Regions from separate parts of the Homo sapiens genome. Here region 1 is linked to region 2. Evidence: promoter capture Hi-C in 16 types of primary human blood cells and fetal thymus (Javierre and others, 2016). All regions are on one chromosome and are shown on one strand. The core of a region is centred on a gene start or on the middle of the fragment in contact, and the rest is flanking DNA. Distances in the headings are between cores, read along the strand shown. Region 1 has its middle 100 kb from the start of ZPLD1. Region 2 holds the start of CEP97 (centrosomal protein 97).

Region 1 (3,379 bases), core at 543-3,042, 810 kb after region 2:
AGTGCAGTGGCAGGATCTTGGCTCACTGCAACCTCCGCCCCACAGGTTCAAGCGATTCCCCTGCCTCAGCCTCCCAAGTAGCTGGAATTATAGGCACCTGCCACCATGCCCAACTAATTTTTTTGTATTTTTAGTAGAGACAGGGTTTTGCCATGTTGGCCAGGTTGGTCTCCAACTCCTGACCTCAGGTGATCCCCCTGCCTTGGCCTCCAAAAGTGCTGGGGTTACAGGTGTGAGCCACCGGGCCCAGCATAGGCTGATTTTTCTAAAACAACTCTTTCACAGTGTTGCTCTGGTGCTCCTCGAAATGGTGTTTGCTGTCAAATTAAATCTACTCTTCTGCTTGCTTCTCATGGCCTTCCACAATCCAAACCCCACTCCGCCAATCTTTCTCTGTTTCCCCCTTTTAAGTAGCATCCACCCACATTACCTTTCCTCATTGATTCTGGCTTAAATGAACACTTGTTCAATCCCAGTTGCAAGGTCAATCTGTCTGGAAGGTTCTCCTCTTGCACCTTTCCCCTTCTCACATGTCAATATCCTTCCCATCCTTCCAGGATGTGTTCAAGTTTGAATCATCTATTATTTTTCTTTCAACTTCCTCCTGCCTTCCCTACTCTCTCTGAGCTCTGAGTGCAGAAATATTATGTCAGAACTACTGTGTTTACTGTGCTTTACCAACATATGTGCTTCTTGAGGTGAGAGATTATGGTTTATCTTCCTCAGTAATTCTCACAGTGTCATAATGTCCAGCACAATGCTGTGTAGTAGATGACCATGTAACATTAGTGGGTAATTACATGAACTTGTAGTGGTAGCATTTTCTGGGTCATCATCTATAGGCCAGTGGGATGATATTTTCTCAAGATAATTTTAAAAGGCAAGAAAAAAGAAGGCTTCTTATTTCTAATTTCCAGATAAGATATCCCCTACCTTGTCCCTGGATGATAGAACTGGATATTGTAAAATAATAGTAATTAGTATTTGAATGCCATTTAACTCTTTATAAAGCACCTTAACTGATATTTGCTTATTCATAATTCTGTAAGTTCTTCCAAAATTACTATACACTTTGAGGCTGGTGGTGTGATGTGTGAAGATGAGATAGAGGAAGTAAGCGTGGAGGATTTGGATTTGCAAAAACATTTGATAATGTATTGCTTTTCATTGGTCTCAAGGAGGTCTATTTCTAGGAGTATTGAGAAAGATATATATGTGTATATGTTTACCCATTTACCAGAAAATGGGTTTACTTCTCTAACGTTTTAGCAATAAAAAGAATTCCAGATATGCAGCAAATAAATCTGACTGTTAGTCAGCCCTCAGGAGCTGCTGATAGCAAAAGACTGAAGATCCTATATTTCTATATTCAGATCATACTACTGAGGGATTTCAAGCTTCTCTTTCTCAAGCCAGCTTTTATGGTTTAATAGTTTTTCTGTTATGAAAATAAAGCAGATGACACAAAATTTCAGAGAAAGACAGCAAAAGTAAGAGCCAAAGAAAAGAAGGAGTGGAAGTGAAAAACGCTTCAGTGAAAAAACTGGAGAGCTGACACTTTGGCACCGAAATGTTAATGCTTATTTTTAAGATTATATCGCCACCTAGTAAATAAGCTCAGAAATACAACCACAGAAAATGACAGCTTGTCTGGTGCTGAGCTCTAATCCTCTGGTTAGCAATTCCTGGGAGCACCTTTCCTTCTAAACATCTGCACACACAAATGTGCTACCTGCGCACGCTTTTAGAGTTCTCGTTGTTCAGGCTCAGCCCACGTTCTCCTGTTCATTTAGAGCAATGTGATGGAAAAGTCAACAGCACACATTTTAGAAATGAAAACAAGCCAAGGATTTCTATCAAGGAACCTGTTATCTACTCTTGAAAAATGATTAGTTAAAACCATACATATTATCATTTGCCAGTTCTGAATAATTCTGGGATTTTCATTAATGAAAATATTTTGCATTTTCTACTTTCATTTCTGTATAGAACCGAAGTGGTCTGTTCATGGTCTTTCTTGGTTAGGAAGCATTGGAACTAGGGAATTAAAAACACTAAAGACTGCTTAAAATTTTTCTTGTCTTTAGTTTTTCTGTTATTGTGAACAATCTTTTATTTCTTCTGCAGTGTTTGTTTGTACTGAATGCTTTATGCTTGATCACCCACCCTGATTCTGTTTTTGTACAAAAAGCTTGTTAGCTTGATAAAGCACTGCATAGGGTTTTAGTTGGTTGCTCAATAGATGATTATCTGGGTGGCATCCTGGCTATAGCCCTTGCTAGTTCCAATTTTGTAATCTGTGAGCTAGGGATAACAATAGTGCATACATCACTGGGCATTTGGGAGAAATAAATTAAGCAGCAAGTACTCAAAAATGTTAACTATTATTATTAATAATAAAAATAGATCGATTAGAAATGGTAGAAACAAAGGATAGAGACTGATTTCATCTTGCTCAATAGATCAAAATGGCACAGGAGATAAAAAGGTTTTAACCAAACACATAGATACAGATAAAGAAGGCATATATTCTGAGACTAGAAAACCATTCATTCTTAAAAATTCAGGTGATTAAATTTTAAAAAATTATTAAATTTTAATCATATTTAAAAATGATTGAATTCAAGTACTTAGAAACCTTGAAAATATACCTCCATTATTTTTTTCTATGCTATCTTTTTTTGAACGAAATCTATCCTCACTTCAGCCTTCCAAATAATAACTCCATTTTATTTTGAGGGCTGTTTAGAATAAACATGATTAAAGAAATTAGCCAAGAGTTTAGGGTATGAAGTGGGAGAGGGGAGATTTTTGTTACGAGAGCCTTTTTCATGGGGGTTATCAGGCATAAAATTATCAATTTTGTTTAACCCAGACGTGGCAGATTCTGCTATTTATCCCAGAATAACCATTGTTTTTCTTTTTCTTTCAATAGAACTTTGTGCTGGTACATGATTATACAGCCAAATATGCCCTAGCTTCTTAAGTGTGGCATCAACTGTGTGATATGTGCTAACTTTGGTGCCATGCCTTCATGAAGAACATGCATTTTCTTCTCCCCTTGTCTTTTTCTACCTTTCTGCTGGCTGGAATGTGGATATGATGATGGGAATGGAACAGCCACTGAACCAAGAGAAGGAAGCTAAGTTTTAAAGAGAAATAGAGCAACAAGATAAAGGAAGCCTGGCTTCCCATCACTTCTGATGTGCCGTAACAGCCCTGGAATGCCTATGCAGACCTTACATGAGAAATAAGCCAATGCCTGTCTGACTTAAGCTTAAATATTTTTTTTTAGTTTCTTTATTACAGTAGCCTAAACTGTACTACAACTAATTCTAATGGTCTACAAAGAGTCACAAGCCCTAGAAATATGAATATA
Region 2 (3,313 bases), core at 537-3,036:
GCACTTTGCCGGGCTGAGGCAGAAGGATCACTTGAGCTCAGGAGTTCAAGGCCAGCCTGGGCAAAAAAAAATTGTCTCTAAAAAAAAAAAAAGAAAAAAGTGTGAGCCTGCTTTCTTCCAACTAGGCAATGTATTTCTTGAATTTGGAGACTATATAAAAATATATTTATATACATAATCTATATTTATATATAAATATATAACATATATAATATATAATATATAAATATATAACATATATAATATATAATATATAAATCTATAACATATATAATATATAATATATAACATATATAATATATAATATATAATATATATAACATATATAATATATAATATATAACATATATAACACATATAATATATAAATATATAACATATATAATATATAACATATAACATATATAATATATAAATATATAACATATATAATATATAATATATAAATATATAACATATATAATATATAATATATAAATATATAACATATATAATATATAATATATAAATATATAACATATATAATATATAATATATAAATATATAACATATATAATATATAAATGTATAACATATATAATATATAAATATATAACATATAACATATATATCTAAATATATAACATATATAATATATAATATCTAAATATATAACATATATAATATATAATATCTAAATATATGACATATATAATATATAATATCTAAATATATAACATATATAATATATAATATATAAATATATGACATATATAATATATCTAAATATATAACATATATAATATATAATATCTAAATATATAACATATATAATATATAATATCTAAATATATAACATATAATATATAATATCTAAATATATAACATATATAATATATAATTTATATATAATTATAATATATGCAATATCTATATAAAATATATATATTTTTGAGACATAGTTTCGCTCTTGTTGCCCAGGCTGGAGTGCAGTGGCATGATATCGGCTCACTGCAACCTCTGCCTCCCGGGTTCAAGCGATTCTCCTGCCTCAGCCTCCCGAGTACCTGGGATTACAGGCATGCGCCGCCACGCCAGGCTAATTTTTTTGTATTTTTACTACAGACGGGGTTTCTCCATGTTGGCCAGGCGGGTCTCGAATTCCCGACCTCAGGTGATCAGCCTGCGTTGACCTCCCAAAGTGCTGGGATTACAGACGTGAACCACTGCGCCCGGCCTGGAGATTATATTTTAAAGTTATTTTGAATACTCCCTGGAAAAGTTCTTGGTTCATACTTATACCCGTAAGTCAAAAGATTTGTCAAATATTCAAGAACAATCAAACAATCACTTAAAAATACTGTATAAAAGTTTCTATTTCGGCATACTTTACTTTTACTTAACTAAAATTTCAAATAAAATGTATCCACTTTTATGATCTCAACAAGATCGGTCATTCCTATAGCGGAGTTGAAAACTTTCAACTTATTCACAATTATCAAAAGAATGGAGCAGCCCCCACAGAGACTTCCAGCAATGAGTTGTAAAATGCAGTCTGCATTAAGTAGCTTCCTTACAATCATCCCGATGGTAAAAGTGTCAAATTTCGCAAACGCCTGGACAAGGAAGTGAAATGATCATCTAATAACGCAGTTGACTCATCTGTCAAATAAGCGAGTGGGCCAGGGTCCCTGAGCTCACTACCCTCAGATTCTAACTCCAGCTTCACATCATTAGGCGTAAGCAGCCAATTGGGCCGTCTGGGAGCCGTGCATCCTGGGAGTTATAGTTTCCGGCTCCCTCCTTCAGATTACAAGCTCCACAGAGCCGCGGGAGGACGGTTGCCTGGTATTATTAGCAAGCAGCAAATATGGCGGTGGCGCGCGTGGACGCGGCTTTGCCTCCCGGAGAAGGTAAGGCGATCCCTACCCCGAGTCCTAAGGTTTACTTCACGGAGCTGAATTAAATAGTGGAGAGCAGAAAACCTAGGTTTAGATGTGCAGTTCTGGACCAGTTCTTTTGATGCGGATCTGTGGTCGTCGCGGAGGCGGGCTACCCTCTGGGAGTTGTAGTTCACCTGCCGTTCCCAGCTCTCCGGCGTCGCGGTGAGGGCCGAGCGGGGGACTACAGCCCCCAGAAGCCTTCGCGCGGCCCGGCGCCCTGGCTCCCGCGCTCCCGATGCTGAGGAGGCGGTGGATTTCGGGCTGCGATGACCTTTCTTGACCATTTACTTTGAGTCATGGGTGCCTAAGCGAAATGTTTGGGATCTCCCTCTTTCGCTTCACACATCTCCCTCTCTTCTTGGTTCCTGGAACCATCAGGAAAACCTTCCCTCAGAGACCGCTGCCTAGTCTGGCTTTGAACCCTTCCTCGGAGGTGGCCAGTGGCCGTGATAAAATCTAAGGGATGATCCAGAGCCCGCAGTTCTGTACTCCTTGTTCTTGCACACGGGTCCTAGGATCGAGTTTGGTCGCTGCCCAGTAGAGCACAGGACTGTGTGGGTGCTTCTGTGGCCTGAAGATACCTACCTCTTTGGGGCGCCGGACGCGAGCTGCTTTTGTTTTGGTTACAGCTCCGAGGCTTGGCAGCAGTCAGTCCTCTAAATCGGGGACAGGGCCCAGGGGTCGAGGCCCGTCTTCATGGCTTAGACCAGGAGTGCATTTTCTGGGAGCTGTAAATTCTTGGGGGAAGAGTTGGTGGATGGTTCTCAGACCTCTCTGTCGACCCCTTGGAATTGTGTACAAAGGCTGTGCACTTTTCTGAGACAGCACACCCCTTTCATCAATTTTTCAGAGGGGCTCACGACTCCTCACATGCTAAGAGCCATTAGACAACGGGAAAACGTTGAAATCCTCCAGGAGAGCAATCTGGCATAATTATTTCCTGCAGTAGTCCTAATCTGGGTGTAAATTTGAAATTGGCCGTTTCTCTGGCCCCGCCCTCTTTGGAGATCGGCTTTTCTTAAACCACACCTCTCAAGCCCACCAGGGCTACTTAACTGTTAATAGCAGTTAACATTTACAGAGCACTTTGTATGACCCAGGCGATGTTCTCAGTCCTTTTTTTTTTTGTTTTTTTTTTTACATTATCTCATTTTCTCTGTAGAACTACATTTATAAGGCAGGTATTATCCCCACTTTACAGAGTAGAAAAGGGAGCCCAAAAGAAATCAATAATTTGCCTAATATACCACAATGGTTAATTGGTGGAGCCAGGGTTTGAACGTCTATGTTATACTAAAGTGCCTTATTGAGTGCCCGGTGGCAGGAACGGGGCTAAGTACTATTCATATGGTTTCTCTTTTAATTCTCATATCAAGCTAGGGAAATGGGTG

The links. Contacts are between HindIII fragments. The CHiCAGO score rates a contact against its expected background, and 5 or more counts as called.
Region 1: a fragment that was not itself captured here is called in contact with the fragment with the promoter of CEP97 in region 2 in 1 of 17 cell types (total CD8 T cells); the score reaches 6.2 in total CD8 T cells.

The regions. Positions count from the first base shown.
Region 1 is chr3:102,535,076-102,538,454 of GRCh38, forward strand. No RefSeq gene overlaps it. Among named protein-coding and RNA genes, the nearest start is that of ZPLD1, 100 kb to the left of the region's middle. RefSeq lists a silencer at 1,450-1,744. The HindIII fragment of the contact is 794 bases long and covers 1,396-2,189 here.
Region 2 is chr3:101,722,828-101,726,140 of GRCh38, forward strand. It overlaps CEP97 (centrosomal protein 97), which reads left to right and starts at 1,787. Exons shown (of 11, transcript NM_024548.4): 1 at 1,787-1,892. The coding sequence starts at 1,850. RefSeq lists enhancers at 1,763-2,132, 2,413-2,482, 2,654-3,265. The HindIII fragment of the contact is 6,095 bases long and covers 1-3,313 here.